3 separate regions of the Homo sapiens genome follow, and all the other regions are linked to region 1. The links are contacts of gene promoters, found by promoter capture Hi-C in blood cells and fetal thymus (Javierre and others, 2016). All regions are on one chromosome and are shown on one strand. Each heading gives the region's core, a stretch centred on a gene start or on the middle of the fragment in contact. The rest is flanking DNA. Distances are from core to core; before and after follow the strand shown.

The links. The method cuts DNA at HindIII sites, captures the fragments that hold promoters and counts their contacts. A CHiCAGO score of 5 or more calls a contact.
Region 2: a contact is called between a fragment that was not itself captured here and the fragment with the promoter of CHPT1 in region 1, in 5 of 17 cell types (M1 macrophages, M0 macrophages, monocytes and 2 more). The highest score is 12.7, in M1 macrophages.
Region 3: a fragment that was not itself captured here is called in contact with the fragment with the promoter of CHPT1 in region 1 in 1 of 17 cell types (total CD8 T cells); the score reaches 5.3 in total CD8 T cells.

Annotation. Positions count from the first base shown.
Region 1 is chr12:101,695,679-101,700,187 of GRCh38, forward strand. It overlaps CHPT1 (choline phosphotransferase 1), which reads left to right and starts at 1,962. Exons shown (of 9, transcript NM_020244.3): 1 at 1,962-2,456. The coding sequence starts at 2,184. It also overlaps a transcript of MYBPC1 not described here. RefSeq lists an enhancer at 1,436-1,685 and silencers at 1,906-2,245, 2,506-2,695. The HindIII fragment of the contact is 18,657 bases long and covers 1-4,509 here.
Region 2 is chr12:101,432,497-101,436,803 of GRCh38, forward strand. No RefSeq gene overlaps it. Among named protein-coding and RNA genes, the nearest start is that of ARL1, 27 kb to the left of the region's middle. The HindIII fragment of the contact is 3,162 bases long and covers 491-3,652 here.
Region 3 is chr12:101,274,286-101,278,460 of GRCh38, forward strand. No RefSeq gene overlaps it. Among named protein-coding and RNA genes, the nearest start is that of UTP20, 3.7 kb to the right of the region's middle. The HindIII fragment of the contact is 205 bases long and covers 2,791-2,995 here.

The sequences.
Region 1 (4,509 bases), core at 712-3,211:
AATCATGAGATGGCCTTATAGATACAAGTCAGAGAGGATATTGGAGCAGAGAGACAGAAAAGCCTGAGTTCCTGATGACCATGGAAACATCGTACCAGTCTTGGAGTGCCAATTCTGTACTTCTTTTATGTGAGAGAGAAATAAATTCCTGTTGTCTAAGCTATTCAGTCTGTGGTATTTTGTTATGACAATCCAAGCTGACTAATACACCTGCTTCTTTTTTTTTTTCAGTCAACATATGCTTGTGCAATTCACTCATGTTCATAAGTGCACCCTGGAACATTACCATGTTCCAGGGCTTCTCCTATAGAAACAGAACATAGCCCAGTTGATTATTTTTTATTCTGATTGATTTTTAGGAGTTCTTTACATAATCTGGGTTCTACTCATTGTGGGTTTTGAGGGAAATACCTTTTCCCAGTTTATGGCTTGTCTTTTCATTCTCTTGATGACGTCTTTTGATGTACATTAAAAATTATCTTTAATACAGTGAAATCGGCTAATCTAGAAAAGGATTTTTTCCTTGGACTGTTCATGGCATCGGTAAATTAAAAAGTAGTTACTGTCAAGTTCACTGCACATAAACCAGCATTGTTAAAAGTGGATCTCCATCATTCCATTTCCTTTCCTGCATTTGTCAGCATCGTTTTTCACACTAAAGATGAGGAGATCCATATTCCTAAGACATATACGCTTGGTCTGTAGAGACCCTCATTGCTCTAAGGCAGTGGTTGCCAGTTTTTTCCTTAAAGGGCCTAGTAGGACATAGTCCAGGCTTTGCCAGCCATACGGTCTGTCACAACTGAATTCTGCTGCCCTTGTAGCATGAAGGCAGCCAAACAATAGGTAAGGAATAAACATGGCTTTATTCGTGGCACTGAACTTTGAATTTCATATAATTTCACAACACAAAATTGTATTCTTTTGATTTTTTCCAATCATTTAAAAATGTCAAAACCATACTTAGCTGGAGGGCTGTAGGAAAACAGGTGGTGGGCTGGGTCTGGCACACAGGCAGCAGTTCGTGGACCCCTGTGCCAAGTGTTTGACGAAGCCCGTGAGGCAAACTGCACTTGCCGATAGAGGTTGCGCCACACAAGTGTCTTGGAAGCAATTTCTGGCTTGTCCTAGGCCTTAGAAAGTGCGTGCAGATCAGAGCCATGAAGTGAAGAGCAAAGCAAGTGACAGGCCTGTCTCAGGTTGTGCAACAGAACGTGTTTATGACAGATGTCCCCTGTCCAAGTGAGTGCACTGTGAGATAAGGGGCCGGTGACCTACCAATGCGTGTGGCAAGCCAGCCTGTTCCCCCTTGCAGGGGGAGGACACTCCTGCCCTTTATTCCAGGGAAGAGTATGTGTAAAAATATTCACCCTTGTTGGTATCAAATGCGCTGAAGAAAATAGGTATCGGGGTTTCAGCCATTCGGTCTCCTTGTTAGTGTTTCTAAGCCCTGATTTTCAGTTTCAAAACCTTGGTCTCTGAATCCGCAGTGATGGGTCTCTAGAGCGAATACATGGCAGGGCCGCCTTCCTCCGTACAGAAAGGGAGAATTGTGCTTGTGTGTTTTACCAAGCAGGACAGATGGGGCCGTCACCCCCGTGACCCGAGCCCTGCAAAACTGTGTTCTCACACGAAAACCCCCAGGCTCTGCGGGCAGCGTGGTCCTGCAGTGGCTAACACTGGGCGACCGGAGTCGTGTTCCGACCCCTAGGAGAGGAACCGGCTCGGTCGTGGTGCAGCCCGCGAGGAGACGACCTCAGGGCGTAATCCGACGCCGTGGGTTAAGACATCAGACCTCAGGCGCAGTGCAGCCGGCCCCTGGGGAGTCAAGGACCTTGATCGCCGATAACAAGTTGCCGTTGGCGGGCGCCGAGGGTGACCCGCGAGCGCGGCACCCGCCTCCCCGCCCCTAGCAGGACCCCCTCCGCCCCGCCCCCAGCCGGACCCCTCCCCGAGGCCCCGCCCCACCCGCGAGCCGCAGCCGCGGCCCCACAGCTTCTGGGGCTGGGGCCCCGGCAGCCGGGCAGGCCGGCCTGACCTCGACCTCCGCCGTGCGGGCCCGACCGGTGAGTCCAGCCCGGCAGTCGCAGGACCCGGCCGCCAGCCTCTCCCTCCACCTCTCCCTGCCCCCAGCGCCAGGCGCGGGCTGCGCTCGGTGGCGGCGGCGGGGCCCTCAGGCGGCCATGGCGGCAGGCGCCGGGGCCGGGTCCGCGCCGCGCTGGCTGAGGGCGCTGAGCGAGCCGCTGAGCGCGGCGCAGCTGCGGCGACTGGAGGAGCACCGCTACAGCGCGGCGGGCGTCTCGCTGCTCGAGCCGCCGCTGCAGCTCTACTGGACCTGGCTGCTCCAGTGGATCCCGCTCTGGATGGCCCCCAACTCCATCACCCTGCTGGGGCTCGCCGTCAACGTGGTCACCACGCTCGTGCTCATCTCCTACTGTCCCACGGCCACCGAAGAGGTAGGGCTGGCCGATCGCCCGAGCCGGGCCCCAGATGCGCTGCGGGCGGGTCGCTGGAGGCGCCGGGGGAAGGGCGGACCCACGCGCGGCTGAGCCTCTCCCGGGCCCCGGAGGGGCGGACTGGCCACTGCCCCGGGCGGTGTCCGCCCTGGGCCGCCTGGAGACTGTCACGCCACTATCCCAATCCCGTGACCATCCCAAGCCTCCCCTGGGCAGCGGAGGGGCTGTTAAGGTCACTGCCCCAGGTCCTATGTCCGCGCAGATCCTCCCCACGGCCGCGGACGGGCCGGAGGGCGCCTGCCCAGCCGCTATCCCATGCGGCGCCAACCTGTGAGACGGACCCGCGGTCGGGTGCTTTGCACACTGGGGACTGAACACCCCCATCTCCGTCCTGCCTGGCACAGGGACTTGTGCCAAGCCCGAGACGCCCTTTGAATACTTTCGTAACCGTTCGTTTCTGGAAGGTTGAGCTAGTGATCTTGAAATGACCGGTAGCACTGATCAAAGATGAGTTAAGAGGTAACTTCCTCTTTGCTTCATCGACTTTTTCAAGAAAAACAAACTGGAATGTTATCAAGGCAATAATTTTTTTGTCATCACAACCTAGGGATTAAAAAAACCCCAACATTTTATTAGCAATAATTACATTTGACCTTTGTACAAAATAAGGAGTAAATATAGGCTTTGGATAGCTGTTCATCAGAAGCACCCTTTGGGCTGAGTGTGGAGGGATAGGGGGCAGAGTGGAGTTCACTCCCATCTATAGTTTATACTACGTGGGATAAATATTACATTGCACATTCTGTGACATTACTTTCTATTCTCTGCTCCAAATAGTGAAGTCCCTTTATAATCATTTGAGTGTAGGCCTTGTGGAGGACTCATGGAGGTTGAGGTTGGATTAACAGAAATACAGTGGAAATATTTCATGCCCTCCATGCATGCATCCATTTTGTTGTTGTTTTTGAGACAGGGGTTTACTCTGTCACCCAGGCTGGAGTGCCGTGCCGTGGCTCGATCTCGGCTCACTGCAACCTCCGCCTTCAGGGTTCAAGCGATTCTTCTGCCTCAGCCTTCCAAGTAGCTGGGATTACAGGCGCGTGCCACCACGGCCGACTCACTTTTGTGTTTTTAGTAGATACAAGGTTTCACCATGTTGGCCAGGCTCATGCATCCTTTAAAAACAAAAATTTGATCGAGCCTACATTTTAAAATATCTTGTCAATGGATTGGTATGCTTATTATGTATTTCTTTTCTTTTTTTTTTTTTTGAGACAGAGTCTCGCTCTGTCACCCAGGCTGGAGGGCAATGTGGTGATCTCGGCTCACTGCAACCTCTGCCTCCTGGGTTCAAGCGATTCCCTTGCCTCAGCCTCCTGAATAGCTGGGACTACACGTGCCTGCCACCACGCCCGGCTAATTTTTGTATTTTTAGTAGAGACGGGGTTTCACCATATTGGCCAGGCTGGTCTCGAACTCCTGACCTCAAGTGATCCGCCTGCCTCGGCCTCCCAAAGTGCTGGTATTTACAGGAGTGAGCCACTGCGCCAGGCTTATTATATATTTCTTAATAGACATTCCCATTGTCATTTGCCATTGCTATTCATTTACATATTACATATGAAAAAGTAAGCTGCTTTAGTTTTTGGCTGTTTTGCTGCCTGTTTCTAGAATTTACCAGAGGGAGTGTGTTAGAATGAAAGGATAGCTGGGTTGGAAGTGGAGGTCTTGGTTTCTAACTGGCTCTTCCACCACAGACCTGCTGGGTCTGTGTTCCCACAGATACAATAGAAAATAATGCCTGCCAAAACAACTTGACAAGGATGCAGTGAGGACCAAATGATATATATGCAGATAAATGTAAAAGATTGCGATGTGCCTAACAAATTAAAAATATCACTCAACACATTAAAAATATTACTGTTATCAGACAACATCCTGAAAACACATAATAAAATTTAGTTTTGATTGGGTCCAGATTTAGCTAACAGCATTTGAATGTTTCTGATATTGGCCAGTTAAGTTGTGGACTCTTCAATGTTATTATTAATTT
Region 2 (4,307 bases), core at 822-3,321, 260 kb before region 1:
TAGCGTGAACCCGAGAGGAGGAGCTTGCAGTGAGCCGAGATCGCGCCACTGCACTCCAGCCCGGGTGACGGAGCGAGACTCCATCTCAAAAAAAAAAAAAAAAAAAAAAAAAAATCTTTATAGCTGAGTGCGGTGGCTCACACCTGTAATCCCAGCATTTTGGGACGCTGAGGCAGGCGGATAACCTGAAGTCAGGAGTTCGAGACCAGCCTGGCCAACATGGTAAGACCTTGTCTCTACTAAGAATACAAAAAATTAGCCAGGTGTGGTAGTGGTGCCTGTAATCCCAGCTGCTCAGGAGGCTGAGGCAGGAGAATCGCTTGAACCTGGGAGGCAGTGGGTACAGTGAGCCAAGATTGCGCCATTGCACTCCAGCCTGGGAGAGTGAGACTCCATCTCCAAAATAAATAAATAAATAAATAAATCTTTATAAACAACACCATTAAGTAAATACTATTATTCTTCCATATTTTAAAGGCAATGAAATTGAAGCTTAGGTAAGTTAAGCAATTTGCCCAAGGTGCATAGCTAGTAAGCAGCAGAGCTAGAATTAGAGTCCAAGCTGTCTGACATCAGAACCAGACCTCCTCAGCACTATTTCTGTGCTCTGCCTCTGGGAAAAAAAAAAACTGGCCTACCCAAAATAAGAAATTTCCTTATAAAAAGAAATAACACATACACACATACACATATGAAAACTGAAAATATTTACAAATTATTCTCTAAATGGCGTGTTCTTCTTTTCCTATTATTTGGGAAGAGTAAGTACGTCATCAATACTATGAGAAACTTCAGAGTAATTCACCAGTATTTTTTTTTTTCTTTGAGGCAGGGTCTTACTCTGTCACCCAGGCTGGAATGAAGTAGTGTGATCTTGGCTCACTGCAGCCTCAACCTCCAGGCTCAAGCAATCCTCCCACTTGGGACTACAGGCATGTGCCACTATGCCTGGCTATTTTTTTTTTTTTAATGTTTTGGTAGAGTTGAAGTCTCACTATGTTGTCCAGGCTGAGTCATTTTCAATTTCAATTTTATTTTTGCAATGCATCATTTTAAATATATATATATATATATCTACAACCCTAACTTCCTCACCCAGAATCTCCTTCTCAGAACTAATCACTTTTTTTTTTTTTTTTGAGATAGACTTTTGCTCTTATTGCCCAGGCTGGAGTGCAATGGTGCGATCTCGGCTCACCGCAACCTCCACCTCCCAGGTTCAAGCGATTCTCCTGCCTCAGCCTCCCAAGTAGCTGGGATTACAGGCATGCACCACGACACCCGGCTAATTTTGTATTTTTTAGTAGAAACGAGGTTTCTCCATGTTGGTCAGGCTGGCCTCGAAATCCCAACCTCAGGTGATCCACCCTCCTTGGCCTCCCAAAGTGCTGGGATTACAGGCGTGAGCCGCTGCGCCTGGCCAAACTAATTACTATTAATGGTCTTGTGTTTCTTTCTAAATGTATTATATGCATATACAGATGCATGCATATTTCCTTTAATATAAATAGCAGCATAATATTTACACTGTTCTGTATCTTTTTACACTTAAAAATAACATATCTTGGCAAATATTCTGTATCAATACATGTAGAGTTACTTCGTTCTTTTCAACAGCTGTAAAACATTCTGTTGGGGAGATACTGGGAAGAAGATGAACTGAAAAGGGAGAAATTTATTAACAATAATACATAGCATTTCTCAGGCTCTGTTTTCTATGCATAAAACTGTAAGACTCCTAACCCCCATGCAAAGCCCATGCGTGCGTGTTCTCTCAGCCTACAATGGGGAGATATTCAGGTGCACTCTCCGATGTGCCAACACACAGAAAGGTTCAAGCCGTGCAGGGTAGTCCTTTCCCCATCACGTCTCATAAAAACTTCTGTGTCAAGTCAAAAGAACTTACTCGGCCGGGTGCAGTGGCTCATGCCTGTAATCCCAGCACTTTGGGAGGCTGAGGCGGGCAGATCACTTCAGGTCAGGAGTTTGAGGCCAGCCTGGCCAACATGGTGAAAACTTGTCTTCTAAAGATACAATAATTAGCCGGGCGTGGTGGCACGTGGCTGTAGTCCCAGCTACCTGGGGGGCTGTAGAATTGCTTGAACCGGGAGGGGGAGGTTGCAGTGAGCTGAGATCGAGCCACTGCACTCGAGCCTGGGAGACAGAGTAAGATGTCTCCAAAAAAAAAAAAAAAAAAAAGAGAAAAAAAAAAACTTAGTTCTGGTTTCAACATGATACATAAACTCTTCAAATCTGAGCGAGTAGCAACATGCAACATTCAGAATTGGCTTTGTCCTACAGTAACTAAGTGATTCCTTAGAATAAGAACCTTCTTAGAAGGCTCCTGATCTTTCATGCAAATAGACCTCTGGTGGGCCCTCTCTAGCTAACCTCCCAACAGTCCCATTAGGGTCTCAATCCGTTTAATGAAACGGTAACCATTGGCTCAAGATGAGTGATTCCAGTCTTCCCTGCCATCCCCTAAATACACACAATGAGGTGCTCCTGTAGAGTCAGCGCACCTCCTGTAAGCCTCATTGGCAGGCATGGAGAAAAGAGACTTCCATTAATGGACACCAAAGTTGGTGTTATTGCTCTCACTTACAGCTGAGGAAAGTGAGGTTAAGTACTAGCTAAGGAAAGAAGTGAGGCTGAAGTATTCATACAGGGGACAGTTATTAGTCTTCTGTTCCCACAAACTGCCTCTCCAGGGCTGGAGAACCCCTGTCTATCCACAACCATTCCAAGCACAACCTGTATTCACACTCCTATTAAATTATAAGTTTATCATGTACAGCTGTGTGCCCTTGGGCACTATGCATGTTTGATCATTCATTCATTCAATAAATATTCATCCCAGCACTTTGGGAGGCCAAAGCAGGTGGGTCACTTGAGGTCAGGAATTCAAGACTAGCCTGGCCAACATGGCAAAACCCTGTCTCTACTAAACATACAAAAATTAGCCGGGTGCGGTGGCTTATGCCTGTAATCCCAGCACTTTGGGAGGCCAAGGTGGGCAGATCACCTGGGTCAGGAATTTGAGACCAGCCTGGCCAACATGGCAAATCCCTGTCTTTACTAAAAATACAAAAATTAGCTAGGGATGGTGGCGGACGCCTGTAATCTCAGCTACTGGGGAGGCTGAGGCAGGGGAATCACTTGAACCCCGGGAAGCAGAAGTTGCAGTGAGCCAAGATTGCACCACTGTACTCCAGCCTGGGTGACAGAGCAGACTCCATCTCAAAAATAAATAAATAAGGCTGGGCATGGTGGCTCATGCCTGTAATCCCAGCACTTTGGGAGGCCAAGGCAGGTGGATCACCTGAGGTCAGGAGTTTAAGACCAGCCTGACCAACATGGAGATGCTCCGTCTCTACTAAAAATATAAAATTAGCCAGGTGCGGTGGCGCATGCCTGTAACCTCAGCTACCCGGGAGGCTGAGGCCGGAGAATCGCTTGAACCTGGAAGGTGGAGGTTGCGGTGAGGCGAGATCATACCATTGCACTCCAACCTGGGCAAGAAGAGTGAAACTCCATCTTAAAAATATATATAAATAAAAATAAATAAATAAATAAATATTTACTGAGTCCTGGCCATTGAGCCCAGGCATGCTTTCTCCTGGGGCTTTGTCCCAAAAGAGGCACAACTTGAAGCTTTCAACATGTAAACAAGTAGGTAAGTAAGATATATACAGTTAGCAATAAATTCTCTGGAGGAGAGGAAGGGTAAGGTGATAAAGTGTAACTAGGAAGAAGAGGCTGTTTTAGATAGAAGGGCCAGGAAAGGGCTCAAAGAAGGTGACATTCCAGCTGAAGCCTGAAGTGTGGGAGGTAAGAAGGAACCAGTCATGCAAAGACTGAGGATAAGCATATAGGCACAGTGTACAGCAGCTGCTGGACCTGTTTGGCTCATTTCAGCATAGCACAATGTGTCACTCAAAATATACCTTTCAAATAAAAATGAATCCACATTGCTTTGCCAAGGACTAAAACATATTTTAAGGCCAAGTATTACCATAAAATTTTACTTAAAATATATTGAAATAGGCTGGGCGCAGTGGCTCATGCCTCATGCCTGTAATTCCAGCACTTCGGGAGGCCGAGGCAGGTGGATCACCTGAGTTCAGGAGTTCAAGACCAGCCTGACCAACATAGGGAAACCCCATCCCTACTAAAAATAACAAAAATTAGCCAAGCGTAATCCCAGCTACTTGGGAGGCTGAAGCAGGAGAATCACTTGAACCTGGGAGGCAGAGGTTGCAGTGAGCTGAAATCGTGCCTGGGCAACAAGAGTAAAACTCTGTCTC
Region 3 (4,175 bases), core at 1,643-4,142, 420 kb before region 1:
ATGCCTGTAATCCCAGCACTTTGGGAGGCCGAGGCAGGTGGATCACTTGAGGTCAGGAGTTCGAGACCAGCCTGGACAACATGGCGAAATTCCGTCTCTACTAAAAATACAAAAATTAGCCAGGTATGGTGGCGGGTGCCTGTAATCCCAGCTATGTGGGAGGCTGAGGCAGGAGAATCACTTGAACCTGAGAGGTGGAGGTTGCAGTGAGCCGAGATCACGCCAGTGCACTCCAGCCTGGAAGACAGAGTGAGAGTCTGTCTCAAACAACAGAAACAACAACAGCAACAACAAGTTGAGTCACTCACTGCATTAAACAATAAAAGCAGCTGCAGAAGCAACAGAAAAATAATCTGCTGCCTATGAGGCATGTTTAAAACCAAAGACGAGAACAGCCTTCTGCCTGAGGAATATTCTGAGGCAGAGGCTACACACTGAGCTTTCCACAGGGGCCAGGTATCCACCTTAAGTCATGACATGGGCCTGGGGTAGGACAAAAAGGAAGGAGTGGTGTGCACAGAGACAAAGTGGTGGCATCAAAGAGCCACTACTACTCAACTCCAGCTGGTTGTTGCTTCTCAAAATATGGGCCCAGTATTGCAGTTTTCTTTTTTTTTACTTTTCAAGAGAAGTTGAAAATCTAGAGTTTTACCTAAAATTTTCAGATTTTTAACAAATTAAAACATTTGTGATTCTGCTGAGAGAGTATCTGATTATAAAAAATAAAAATAAATTTCAAGAATATCATCTGGTATGCTGGGCATGGCAGCTCATGTCTGTAATGCCAGCACTTTGGGAAGCTGGAATAGGAAGATCACTTGAGCCCAGTAGTTCGAGATCAGCCTGGGCAACACAGCAAGACTCACCTCTAAAAATGTTTTTAAAATTAGCTGGACATGGTGATGCACACCTGTAGTATCTGTAGCTACCAGGGAGGCTGGGGTGGGAGGATCGCTTGAGCCAAGGAGCTTGAGGTTGGCAGTAAGTGACGATCGTGCCACTGTACTCCAGCCTGGACAACGGAGCGAGACACTCTCTTAAAAAAAAAAAGAAGAAGAAGAATATGTTTGGTAAACAAAACTTATCTGTGGGCTACCTGAGCTTATAGGCCCCACAAATCCGCAATTTCTGGTCTAATGTTTCTAATGCCTGAGCTTCAAAATAAGGAAAGGAGAATAGAAGCTCTGTGGTATCAGGGCTGAACATGATCACACAATGCAAAGGGAAACAATACTTAGTGTTTCTGTAACTCCTCTGTATTGGTTACAGGGGACTTTGCCTGCTTTATATCGAATGGTCTTCTTAGCAACCGTTAAGGGAAAAGGCAGAACTAGTTATTATGCCTGTTTTAAAGATGAGGAAACTGAGGCTGAAAGGTTAAGTCAGTTGCCCAGTTACTGGCTAATACATGAAAAATGCTAGAACTGGGACCCAGTTGTCCCAAATCCAAACTCCATGCTCTCACTGCTTCCTGATTTACACACACTGTCAACAATACACAGTTTTCTCAAGAAGAGATACGTGGATCAGCTTTCCTTACTACCACAGTCAAGAACTACTCGGCTGGGCAGGAGGATCGCTTGAGCCCAGGAGTTCAAGACCAGCCTGGGCAATGTAGTGAGACCCCTGTCTCTATTTAAGAAAAAACCAACAAAGAATTACTAAAACTTTCTCTTCTCTTTCTTTTTTTTACATTCACTTCCTTGGTCCCTTGTTCTGAGTCAAATCCTCTCTGCCCTGATACACAGCACTCCTTGAACTGCTTTCTAAACAAGACCATGCCACTAGGTCGACTTGCCCCCTTCCAGATCACCACATACAATGTGTTAATTACTAGACTTGATCTTAGCCAAAAGGCTGAGAAGCGATACAATGTATTAATTAATCTTTCAACGGTCTCATATGACTGTGAGAAGTGATACAATGTGTTAATCTTTCAACTGTCTCATATGACTGTTGACTTTCTCATATGTCTATCTCACTTTACAGATGAGAAAACCAAGGCTCTTCTTACCTCTGAGCTTCATCTTGTCCCTATTCTTTCCTATTATTAGTCCAAGGATGCTAAAGATGATACCCATGGCCAATGCTAATTTGACAGGGTGTGGCTTTGCCTTGGAAACTAAAAGTAACCAAATTTGTCTCAACCATTTTGAGACAAATGCCTATACTCCTCCCTCTACCTAGATAACACCATTCATGTCCATTCCTTGCCTGGCTAATTCCTATTCATTTTCCAGGTCTCAGCTTAGATGTCACTTCCCCCAAGAAGCCTTCTCTGGATTCCACTTTCTTGTCTAGGCTGGGTAAACTCCTCATGTGCTTTCTTCCCTTCCTTTCCCTCCTCTCCCCTCCCTTCCTTTCCTTTACTTTCCCTTCTTTCTCCCTCTCCTTCCTTCCTTTTTTTTCTTTCAAGACAGGGTCTCACTCTGTTACCCAAGCTGGAGTGCAGTCGCAGGATCACAGCACTGGAGCCTTGACCTCCTGGATCAAGTGTTCCTCCCACCTCAGCCTCCTGAGTAGCTGGGACTACAGGTGCACATCCCCATGTCTGGCTAATTTTTGTATTTTTTGTAGAGATGGGATTTCGCCTTGTTGCCCAAGACTGGTCTCAAATTTCTGGGTTCAAGCAATCCTCTCACCTTGACCTCCCAAAGCTCTGGGATTACAGGCATGAGCCACTGGGCCTAGCTCTTACATGCTCTTAAAGTTTCTTGGCTTGAAATTGCAGCACGCTAAGCAATAAGGAAACAAAAATTAAAAAGCAAAACTTCCAGGAGCGCCCTATAAAGCTTAAGAATAAAAGAATGAAAAAATAATGTATGTTATTTACTGGCTGGAGTAGTTAGGACAGGCAGAGCCCTAATGGAAAAAGGATATAAAGGATGGTATAGGATATTCATCCTATACCTTGACAGAGGACAAACGCTGGAAGCAAGGAAATGTTTATAAGAAACACTCGTGCTCTTCACGGATGCTTTCGGTATTCCATTAAAGCTTAGAAACTTAGTTTTGAGAGATACCAAAAATCATGTGGTGCAATTCACATCCAATGCTGGAACTATATTACTCTTAAATTTGTCCGGGTCAATGTAAGTATTATAAGCTTTGTTAATTCAACAGACATTCATTAAACAACTCTTATGTTCAAGGGAACTGATGACACAAAGTTGAAAAAGTATAAGGTGTCAGCCCTTAAGGAACTTGTCAGGTAGCCAGGTAGTAGAGAATAAATGGTCATTTATTTATCCACTTAGCAAACATTTATTTCATGCTCTATGCACCAACACAGTATCTTGAAAGACTGGTATTATTGTCATCTCTATTTTATAGATGAGGAAATTGGGTCTCAGAAAGGTTAAGTAATTTCTGAGCTTGCGCAATTATGGTGTCTGGCACATTCTAAGCATCTTTTATCCATTAGCTTATTTACTCTGCATAATCACCACCCGTGAGGTAGCTACTTTTGTTAGCTTCATTTACATATACGGAAATGTCATTCTGAAAGGGTAACTGACCCTACTAATAAATGGCAGAACCAGGATTACCTCCAGACAACCTGGTTCCAGCATCTATGCTCTCAACCACCATGTTCTATTGACATATTGTTAAGCCAGTCAGAGTCAAGTCAGTGTGTGAGGGTCATGTAATGAAGAACAATGCAAACAATAAATGGTCAATATAACTTGTGTCAGTTCTTTCAGTTTCTTTGATTTTTCTCTTCACTCCTTATTGTCCAGTTAACTCCATTACCAAAAATAAATTGCAGAGAAGGAAAATGGCACAATGATGTGGGGGTGATTTTGGCAACAGGTTGGGAAAATATTGCTTTGAGTGGGGGCTTCTACCCTCAGTTAACTGCAGGCTTCTAACTCTCTGAAACGTGCACATTTTAGTGTGGATGAGCTTCTTTGCATCTTTCTGGGAGAAGTTCTACAGCTTTCTTAGATTTCCCTGTGACCCATAAAAGGCTTTTAAAAAAAAAAGACCAATTATTAGCCTACTGAAAGCCAATGGAACATTAGGCACGTCAATATTTTATTATAAAAAAATCTATAAATGCTATGGAGGCATTAAAATATTTAGAACAACCCTGTGGTGACACAGAAAATGTTGATGTGATAATGCCAATAACAATTTGAAAGTGTTATGTTCACTTTCTCAACTCTGATTAC